Linked DNA regions of Homo sapiens: regions 2 and 3 are each linked to region 1. The links are contacts of gene promoters, found by promoter capture Hi-C in human tissues and cell types (Jung and others, 2019). All regions are on one chromosome and are shown on one strand. The core of a region is centred on a gene start or on the middle of the fragment in contact, and the rest is flanking DNA. Distances in the headings are between cores, read along the strand shown. Region 1 holds the start of MCU (mitochondrial calcium uniporter). Region 2 overlaps P4HA1 (prolyl 4-hydroxylase subunit alpha 1). Region 3 overlaps ECD (ecdysoneless cell cycle regulator).

Region 1 (2,752 bases), core at 41-2,540:
TTCTCCTATCAAGCTGTTTGCAGTGATCCTCCAATAATCACACTATACAACTCAGCCCCAGCAAATAAAACCTACATTCTTTCCCTCAGAGCTGGCCAGAGACCAACACATATAGGTCTAGAAAGTCCAAGGGAAGGAAACCTCCTGACTTGTTAGGTTAAGAACTCCATGCCAAATTCATCTCTTGCAATTGAAAAAAGAAATCTCTCTCACACTCTGTCTCTCTCTCTCTCACACACACACACACACACACACACACTCACCCAAGAGTGTTCAAACAGAAATCCTCTTTTTCTGCCAGCCAATGAAACCCAGCAACAACTGGTTAATACAACCACCAAATCTCTGCCTCTGTCAACAACTTACCATATTCGCTTCTCCTGTGCCTGCTGACCACCCTTCCCGCTTCAGGCACGCGTGAACACGCTTATACAGTAGCCCTCGAAAGGACCCCCAAAAGCACCTTTAAGGACCCAAGAGGATGAAGCTTGCCTCCTGAAGCAATGCAGCATCCATCTCGAGGGAGCCGGTTCCCCATGCACACACACAGAGGAAGTCACAGAGGGGAATAAAGTTTGATTTTCCTTCCTGCCCGACCCCTCGGGGACGAGAGAGGACGAGGGGCGGCCCCGCCGGGGTCCTGGGCTGCTCTCCGGGGCAGCTCCCAGCAGCATGGCACTGCCACTCTCCTGGCACACACAAGGCGGCCGCGGCAACTCAGAACTCCCCAACCCGCCCGGAGGAGGAGGGAAAGGGGACAACTTCCATCTGGCTCCGTTCAGGGAGCCTTGGGGCAGGGCTGTTAAGAACGAAGAAGGGAGGGAACGCGATTGGGGGCGAGTCGGGGAGAGGTTCAAGTCCCGTGCCTTCCCCGCCCTGGTGTCCCCAGTCCTGCGGGAACATCCCCGCCGTCGCCCCTCCTCCTCCTCTCGGCTTCCTCCCGCCCGCCCTCCCTTCCTGGTCGCCGCCGCAGGCGCCTGAAGGGCACGGCGGCTCCTCGGTGCCCGGCAACCTCCGGAGCGGCCGGGAGTTGAGGTAACTCGCCTGCTGCCCCGGCGGCCTGCCCGCCGGCGGCTCCCACACGCCAGCGCCGCCCCGCCCTCCCCGGAGCCTCCGGGCGCGCTCGCTCACCGTCCGGTGGTGCTGCTGCTGCCGGTGGCGGCTGACGCCCAGCCCAGGGAAGCAGCCGGCAGTCAGCGCCCCGCAGCCGCCGGCGCCCCCGCCGCCGCCGCCCCGAGAGGAGAGGAGCAGCAGGAGCGATCTACCTGCGGCGGCCGCCATCTCTCAACTGGAAACGGCGCCGACCCAGGCAGCGCAGCGGACGGCCAGGGCGGAGCTAAGACCCGCCACTCACCGACGCCGGGCCAACTAAAGCCCTTGACTGAGTTGATGAGGCGGGGCTTCCTGCAAGGTCCAATCGACAGGCGGGAGAACCACACTGGAAGCTGCCAGTCCCTTCCAGAGTTACCTATAGTGGGACATAGTCAATTACGGGCAAATTCTAGGGAACCCATAATTGACACCCAAACCCGTGAAAATAACAGCAATAGAGATGGCATGTTCAGTTCGGCTAATCTTCACCAACAATAGAGCTATGATAAGAGTAACGGGGGATATAGATATTTGTGAAAAGCTTTGTTCGAAGTTGAGTTCTAAGTGAGTGTTCTAAGTTGGCAAAATAGGCACCAAATTAATAACCATTAACGGTGTATGCTGTAACTCTCAACTACACGCCTAGAATTATCATTCATAACTGATAATATTTAGATATGCTGAAATTAACTCTACATCACGGAGTGATCTAATGACTGTGATGCGTAGCATAATATAGGAGAGGTAGAACGATTACAATATCAAAGTCCCAGAATGAGTACATGCCTTCAGAGTGAATTAACTGACGTGTATACATCTCAAATACCCAATTCATTTTTACAGCACCTTTATACGGATATTCTCACACTCTCCAGAAACAGCACTATTTTATCATATTTGACTTTGTGTGCATTTACAGAAACAGAACACATTAATAACGTAATAAAAAATCATGTAAGGCCGGGCGCGGTGGCTCACGCCTGTAATCCCAGCACTTTGGGAGGCAGAGGCGGGCGGATCACGAGGTCAGGAGATCGAGACCATCCTGGCTAACACGGTGAAACCCCATCTGTACTAAAAATACAAAAAATTAGCCAGGCGTGGTGGCGGGCGCTTATAGTCCCAGCTATTCCGGAGGCTGAGGCAGGAGAATGGTGTGAACCCGGGAGACGGAGCTTGCAGTGAACCGAGATCGGGCCATTGCACTCCAGCCTGGGCGACACAGCAAGACTCCATCTCAAAAAAAAAAAAAAAAATTCATGTAAAAGGCTATTTTAATGATGCTTCATAATTTTGCCGAAATAGTTATCAGAATACGCTTTGGAATAACAAACACTTTCTCTTGAAAAACACTTCTTTCCACTTAAACTCACAATGAGGGCTCCTTGAATACTGCCTAAGAAAGATTTTGGGTCCTGAATTTCCTTAGAAGAGTATTTCCTTGCTAGCTGTTTATTATTATGAGCTGATTAAATTCTCACACCTCTTTTTAAAATCTGGAGCAGGAAAATAGTTTGGGAAGCAAATACAAGCATTATTTTAAATTTTGGAAAACATCTTTGTAGTGTAGCCTTAGATGATAAATTTAAAACAAAAACAAAACACACACATAAATACGAAGAAAATGTTATCACTTATTCTAAGAATATTCTTTAAAGTT
Region 2 (2,991 bases), core at 382-2,881, 330 kb before region 1:
TGTATCCTGAGACTTTGCTGAAGTTGCTTATCAGCTTAAGGAGATTTTGGGCTGAGACAATGGGGTTTTCTAAATATACAATCATGTCATCTGCAAACAGGGACAATTTGACTTCCTGTTTTCCTAATTGAATACCCTTTATTTCTTTCTCTTGCCTTATTGCCCTGGCCAGAACTTCCAACACTATGTTGAATAGGAGTGGTGAGGGAGGGTATCCTTGTCTTGTGCCGGATTTCAAACAGTGCTTCCAGTTTTTGCCCATTCAGTATGATATTGGCTGTGGGTTTGTCATAAATAGCTCTTATTATTTTGAGATATGTTCCATCAATACCTAGTTTACCGCATTTTCAGCATGAAGGGCTGTTGAATTTTGTCAAAGGCCTTTTCTGCATCTATTGAGATAATCATGTGGTTTTTGTCATTGGTTCTGTTTATGTGATGGATTACGTTTATTGATTTGTGTATGTTGAACCAGCCTTGCATCCCAGGGATGAAGCTGACTTGATTGTGGTGGATAAGCTTTTTGATGTGCTGCTGGATTCGGTTGGATTTTTGCGTCGATGTTCATCAGCGATATTGGCCTAAAATTCTCTTTTTTTGTTGTGTCTCTGCCAGGCTTTGGTATCAGGATGATACTGGCCTCATAAAATGAGTTAGGGAGGATTCCCTCTTTTTCTGTTGATTGGAATAGTTTCAGAAGGAATGGTACCAGCTCCTCTTAGTACCTCTGATAGAATTCGGCTGTGAATCCATCTGGTCCTGAACTTTTTTTAGTTGGTAGGCTGTTATTGCCTCAATTTCAGAGTCTGTTATTTTTCTATTCAGAGATTCAACTTCTTCCTGGTTTGGTCTTGGGTGTATGTGTCCAGGAATTTATCCATTTCTTCTAGATTTTCTAGTTTATTTGCATAGAGGTGTTTATAGTATTCTCTGATGGTAGTTTGTATTTCTGTGGGATCTGTGGTGATATCCCCTTTATCATTTTTTACTGTGTCTATTTGATTATTCTCTCTTTTCTTCTTTATTAGTCTTGCTAGCTGTCTATCAATTTTGTTGATCTTTTCAAAAAACCAGCTCCTGGATTCATTGATTTTTTGAAGGGTTTTTTATGTCTGTATCTCTTTCAGTTCTGCTTTGATCTGAGTTATTTCTTGCCTTCTGCTAGCTTTTGAATTTGTTTGCTCTTGCTTCTCTTGTTCTTTTAATTGTGATGTTAGGGTGTCGATTTTAGGTCTTTCTTGCTTTCTCTTGTGGGCATTTAGTGCTATAAATTTTCCTCTACACTGCTTTAAATGTGTCCCAGAGATTCTGGTACGTTGTGTCTTTGTTCTCATTGGTTTCAAAGAACATGTTTATTTCTGCCTTCATTTCGTTATTTACCCAGTAGTCATTCAGGAGCAGGTTGTTCAGTTTCCATGTAGTTGTGTGGTTTTGAGTGAGTTTCTTAATCCTGAGTTCTAATTTGATTGCACTGTGGTCTGAGAGACAGTTTGTTGTGATTTCTGTTCTTTTACATTTGCTGAGGAGTGCTTTACTTCCAATTATGTGGTCAGTTTTAGAATAAGTGTGATGTGGTGCTGAGAAGAATGTATATTCTGTTGATTTGGGGTGGACAGAGTTCTGTAGATGTCTATTATAATGGTCTGCTTAGTGCAGAGCTGAGTTCCAGTCCTGGATATTCTTGTTAACCTTCTGTCTTGTTGATCTCATATTGACAGTGGAGTGTTAAAGTCTCTCATTATTATTGTGTGAGAGTCTAAGTCTCTTTTTAGGACTCTAAGGACTTGCCTTATGAATCTGGGTGCCCCTGTATTGGGTGCATATATATTTAGAATAGTTAGCACTTCTTGTTGAATTGATCCCTATACCATTACGTAATGGCCTTCTTTGTCTCTTTTGATCTGTGTTGGTTTAAAGTCTGTTTGATCAGAGACTAGGATTGCAGCCGCTGCTTTTTTTTTTTTTTTTCTTTCCATTTGCTTCGTAGATCTTCCTCCATCCCTTTATTTTGAGCCTATGTGTGTCTCTGCACATGAGATGTGTCTCCTGATGGGTCTTGACTCTTTATCCAATTTGCCAGTCTGTGCCTTTTCATTGGGACATTTAGCCCATTTACATTTAAGGCTAATATTGTTATATGTGAATTTGATCCTGTCATTATGATGTTCGCTGGTTATTTTGCTCGTTAATTGATGCGGTTTCTTCATAGCATCGATGGTCTTTATAATTTGGCATGTTTTTGCAGTGGCTGGTACCAGTTGTTCCTTTCCATGTTTAGTGCTTCCTTCAGGAGCTCTTGTAAGACAGGCCTGGTGGTGACAAAATCTCTCAGCATTTGCTTGTCTGCAAAGGATTTTATTTCTCCTTTATTTAGAAAGCTTAGTTTGGCTGGATATGAAATTCTGGGTTGAAAATTCTTTTTTTTAAGAATGTTGAATATTGGCCCCCACTCTCTTCTTGCTTGTAGGGTTTCTGCAGAGAGATCCACTGTTAGTCTGATGGGCCTCCCTTTGTGGGTAACCCGACCTTTCTCTCTGGCTGCCCTTAAGATTTTTTCCTTCATTTCAGCCTTGGTGAATCTGACAATTACGTGTCTTGTGGTTGCTCTTCTCGAGAAGTATCTTTGTGGTGTTCTCTGTATTTCTGAATTTGACTGTTGGCCTGCCTTGCTAGGTTGGGGAAATTCTCCTGGATAATTTCCTGAATAGTGTTTTTCAGCCTGTTTCCATTCTCCCCGTCACTTTCAGGTGTACACCAATCAAACATAGATTTGGTCTTTTTAGATAGTCCCATATTTCTTGGAGGCTTTATTTGTTTCTTTCTACTCATTTTTCTCTAAACTTGTCTTCTTGCTTTATTTCATTAATTCCATCTTCAATCACTGATACCCTTTGTTCCACTTGATCAAATCGGCTACCGAAGCTTGTGCATGCACCATGACGTTCTTATGCCATGGTTTTCAGCTCCATCAGGTCATTCAAGGTCTTCTCT
Region 3 (2,711 bases), core at 57-2,556, 450 kb before region 1:
TGAAAGATATAAATTTATATTTGGTATTCTCTCTTTAAGAAAGCAGGGATAAGGGAAGATATGTTCTTGTTTATTTTTTAAGCTTTAGTTCTTAAAAGAACAGGCTTTATTTAAATTAACTCAAATAAATAATGGTTTTGCTAATGCTAGATATCTTATTGGGGCTAGAGAGTGGGTAGGTCCCTAAATCAGCATAAGCTAAATGTACATAAACAAGATGCAATTTTTACTTTTCATTTATCAGACTTTCCCATTTCTGTTGTCCTGCAAGGCCAGTAAACTCAAGGATTTTTAAAACTTAAACTACAACTTTTCTTGCTGTGCCTCCTTAGAAATTCTATCTTTGGTAGCTTTCCTAAGAATGGCACCACTTTAGAAAAGTTTCAAAGAGTTGTATTTAGAATAAATTAATTGTCTTTGTCCTTTAATATTGCAGAGAACCTTCTGAGGCTCCAATCACTTTTGATGCAGATTCTTTTCTTAATTATTTTGATAAGATTTTAGGTAAGTAGTGGTGTGATGTTGACTTTCATTTTGAAACTGTTAGTAGTATGGCTGTTGCTAGAGCATTGGTTTATGAGATATCTCAGAAGCCAAAATGTTTGCTTTCTCTTCCTGGTTTGAGTTGCTTTCAACCATGAATTACTACCCATGAATAATTTTGTAGAGGCTGCCTAGCTTAGTGTTTGACATATATAGTAGCTGCTCATTAATTTTTTTTTTTTTTTTTTGAGACAGTGTCTCGCTCTGTTGCCCAGGCTGGAGTGCAGTGGCACGATCTCGGCTCACTGCAAGCTCCGCCTCCTGGGTTCATGCCATTCTTCTGCCTCAGCCTCCTGAGTAACTGGGACTACAGGCGCCTGCCACCACACCCAGCTAATTTTTTTGTATTTTTAGTAGAGACGGGGTTTCACCGTGTTAGCCAGGATGGTCTCGATCTCCTGACCTCATGATCCGCCCATCTCAGCCTACCAAAGTGCTGGGATTACAGGCGTGAGCCACCGTGCCCGGCCTCATTAAATATTTGAGAGTGACTGAATGCTGTGTGTTTAAATAGGGTTTTACCTTGGCTCCCATATTATATTGTTCTTTTTTGGAATTACTGTACTTACAAATCAGTAATAAAAAGATAACTCAAAAAATAATTATAATATGTATATATGTACAGAACTGCAGAGAGAAAGATTGGGATACCCGGAAACTGCTAAAAGATGCTTACCTCTGGGGAGAGAGTGAGATTGGAGACAATACTTGTATGGCTTGAATGTTTACATCAAAATGTATTCATTTATTAGGTATTTTTAAAAATTTTTTAAGAAAAATATTTTAATTAATTGAATTCACTTTTTTTTAAGCTAAATCTTTTGATTCAGCTTGTACGCTTTTCCACAACATTAAATGCACACATATCTGCCAGCATTACCATTTGTAGAAGGGATTTTTGTGAAGTAGACTGACTGTGTGTATTAGTCTTTTTCTGTGGGTAACATTCTAATTATTTTGAGATGTGTAGTAACTAAATAATAATAATAATAATAATAATAATAATAATTACTAAGTGGCTCTTTCTTTCTTGGGATCTGTGTAGGGCCAAGGCCTAATGAGTCAGATTCTGATGATCTGGATGATGAAGACTTTGAATGTTTAGATAGTGATGATGACTTGGACTTTGAAACACACGAACCTGGCGAAGAGGCTTCCCTGAAAGGAACACTTGATAATCTCAAGTCATACATGGCCCAGATGGACCAGGAACTAGCACACACCTGCATCAGCAAAAGTTTCACCACTAGGAACCAAGTGGTATGTGTGTTTTTAACCTCTTTCTCTTTCTGAGTCTAGTATGTCAGATAGCTAAAACCATATTTTATCATAGTTTTTCTTTTTTTGGTGTGTGAGATTTGAAATAAATAAGAATGTTAATTGTTTTCCTAACTCTGGTAGGATAAAGGATCATAGACTTAATTTTCCAAAACATAAGCTTCATTATATTACTTATTCTACGTTATCTATCAGGATTTAAAATAAAAAGTCATATAATATGCTCAAATTAGAATGCGATTGTACACTACTACTTCTTAAATACATTTTTTTTCAAAAGTAGTTTAAAAAAACTACAGCTTAAATGGATTTTAAAAAAGAGAGGGCACATGTTCTCAAGACCTTTTGAGACTATGCCTTGGGCCACAGTGGATTAAAACAAAATAACATAAGTAAATAAACAGGATCTTAAACATTCAAATAACTTTCCAGTTTTAACAGTTTATTTTGTATTTTTCCCTAATTTAGAGCCAAATTTAGGATTCACCTTCCGTTTATGTTTTCATCCTAGTTTTTAATGCCACCACTGTCTAATCCTAAACAGAGGTATTATGGAAAGAGCAAGAACCCTGGAGTCTTATGGGTTAGGGTTTGAAGTCTAGCTCAGCTGTCCACTGTGAATGTATCTATAAACCAGTAATCCTCATATCATAAAATTAACATGAGAACCAAATTAGACAGCAGTAAAACCTACAATAGGCCTTTAATTAATGTTAATTCTCCTTGCTTTGATCATCTAAACCACTTTTAAAACTATAGTCACTTCCAGAATTGTCAAAATCTAGTAGAAACCATACATTAGATTTATCTAAAGCAGTATTTCTTAAATTTTAATGCGAATATAAACCAAAAGATCATGTTACAACATAGATTCTGATTAAGTAGGCCTG

The links. Contacts are between HindIII fragments. The study calls those that stand out against the background at their distance.
Region 2: a contact is called between a fragment that was not itself captured here and the fragment with the promoter of MCU in region 1, in 1 of the 25 tissues and cell types used here (mesenchymal stem cells).
Region 3: a contact is called between a fragment that was not itself captured here and the fragment with the promoter of MCU in region 1, in 1 of the 25 tissues and cell types used here (hippocampus).

The regions. Positions count from the first base shown.
Region 1 is chr10:72,690,681-72,693,432 of GRCh38, reverse strand. MCU (mitochondrial calcium uniporter) reads right to left here and starts at 1,290. Exons shown (of 8, transcript NM_138357.3): 1 at 1,132-1,290. The coding sequence starts at 1,281. RefSeq lists silencers at 703-792, 813-862, 953-1,412 and an enhancer at 1,613-1,672. The HindIII fragment of the contact is 2,893 bases long and covers 105-2,752 here.
Region 2 is chr10:73,022,786-73,025,776 of GRCh38, reverse strand. All of the region lies in intron 10 of P4HA1 (prolyl 4-hydroxylase subunit alpha 1), which reads left to right. Among named protein-coding and RNA genes, the nearest start is that of PLA2G12B, 69 kb to the right of the region's middle. The HindIII fragment of the contact is 5,177 bases long and covers 1-2,991 here.
Region 3 is chr10:73,135,796-73,138,506 of GRCh38, reverse strand. It overlaps ECD (ecdysoneless cell cycle regulator), which reads left to right. Exons shown (of 14, transcript NM_007265.3): 12 at 437-504; 13 at 1,589-1,803. Among named protein-coding and RNA genes, the nearest start is that of SNORA11F, 11 kb to the right of the region's middle. The HindIII fragment of the contact is 3,377 bases long and covers 1-2,711 here.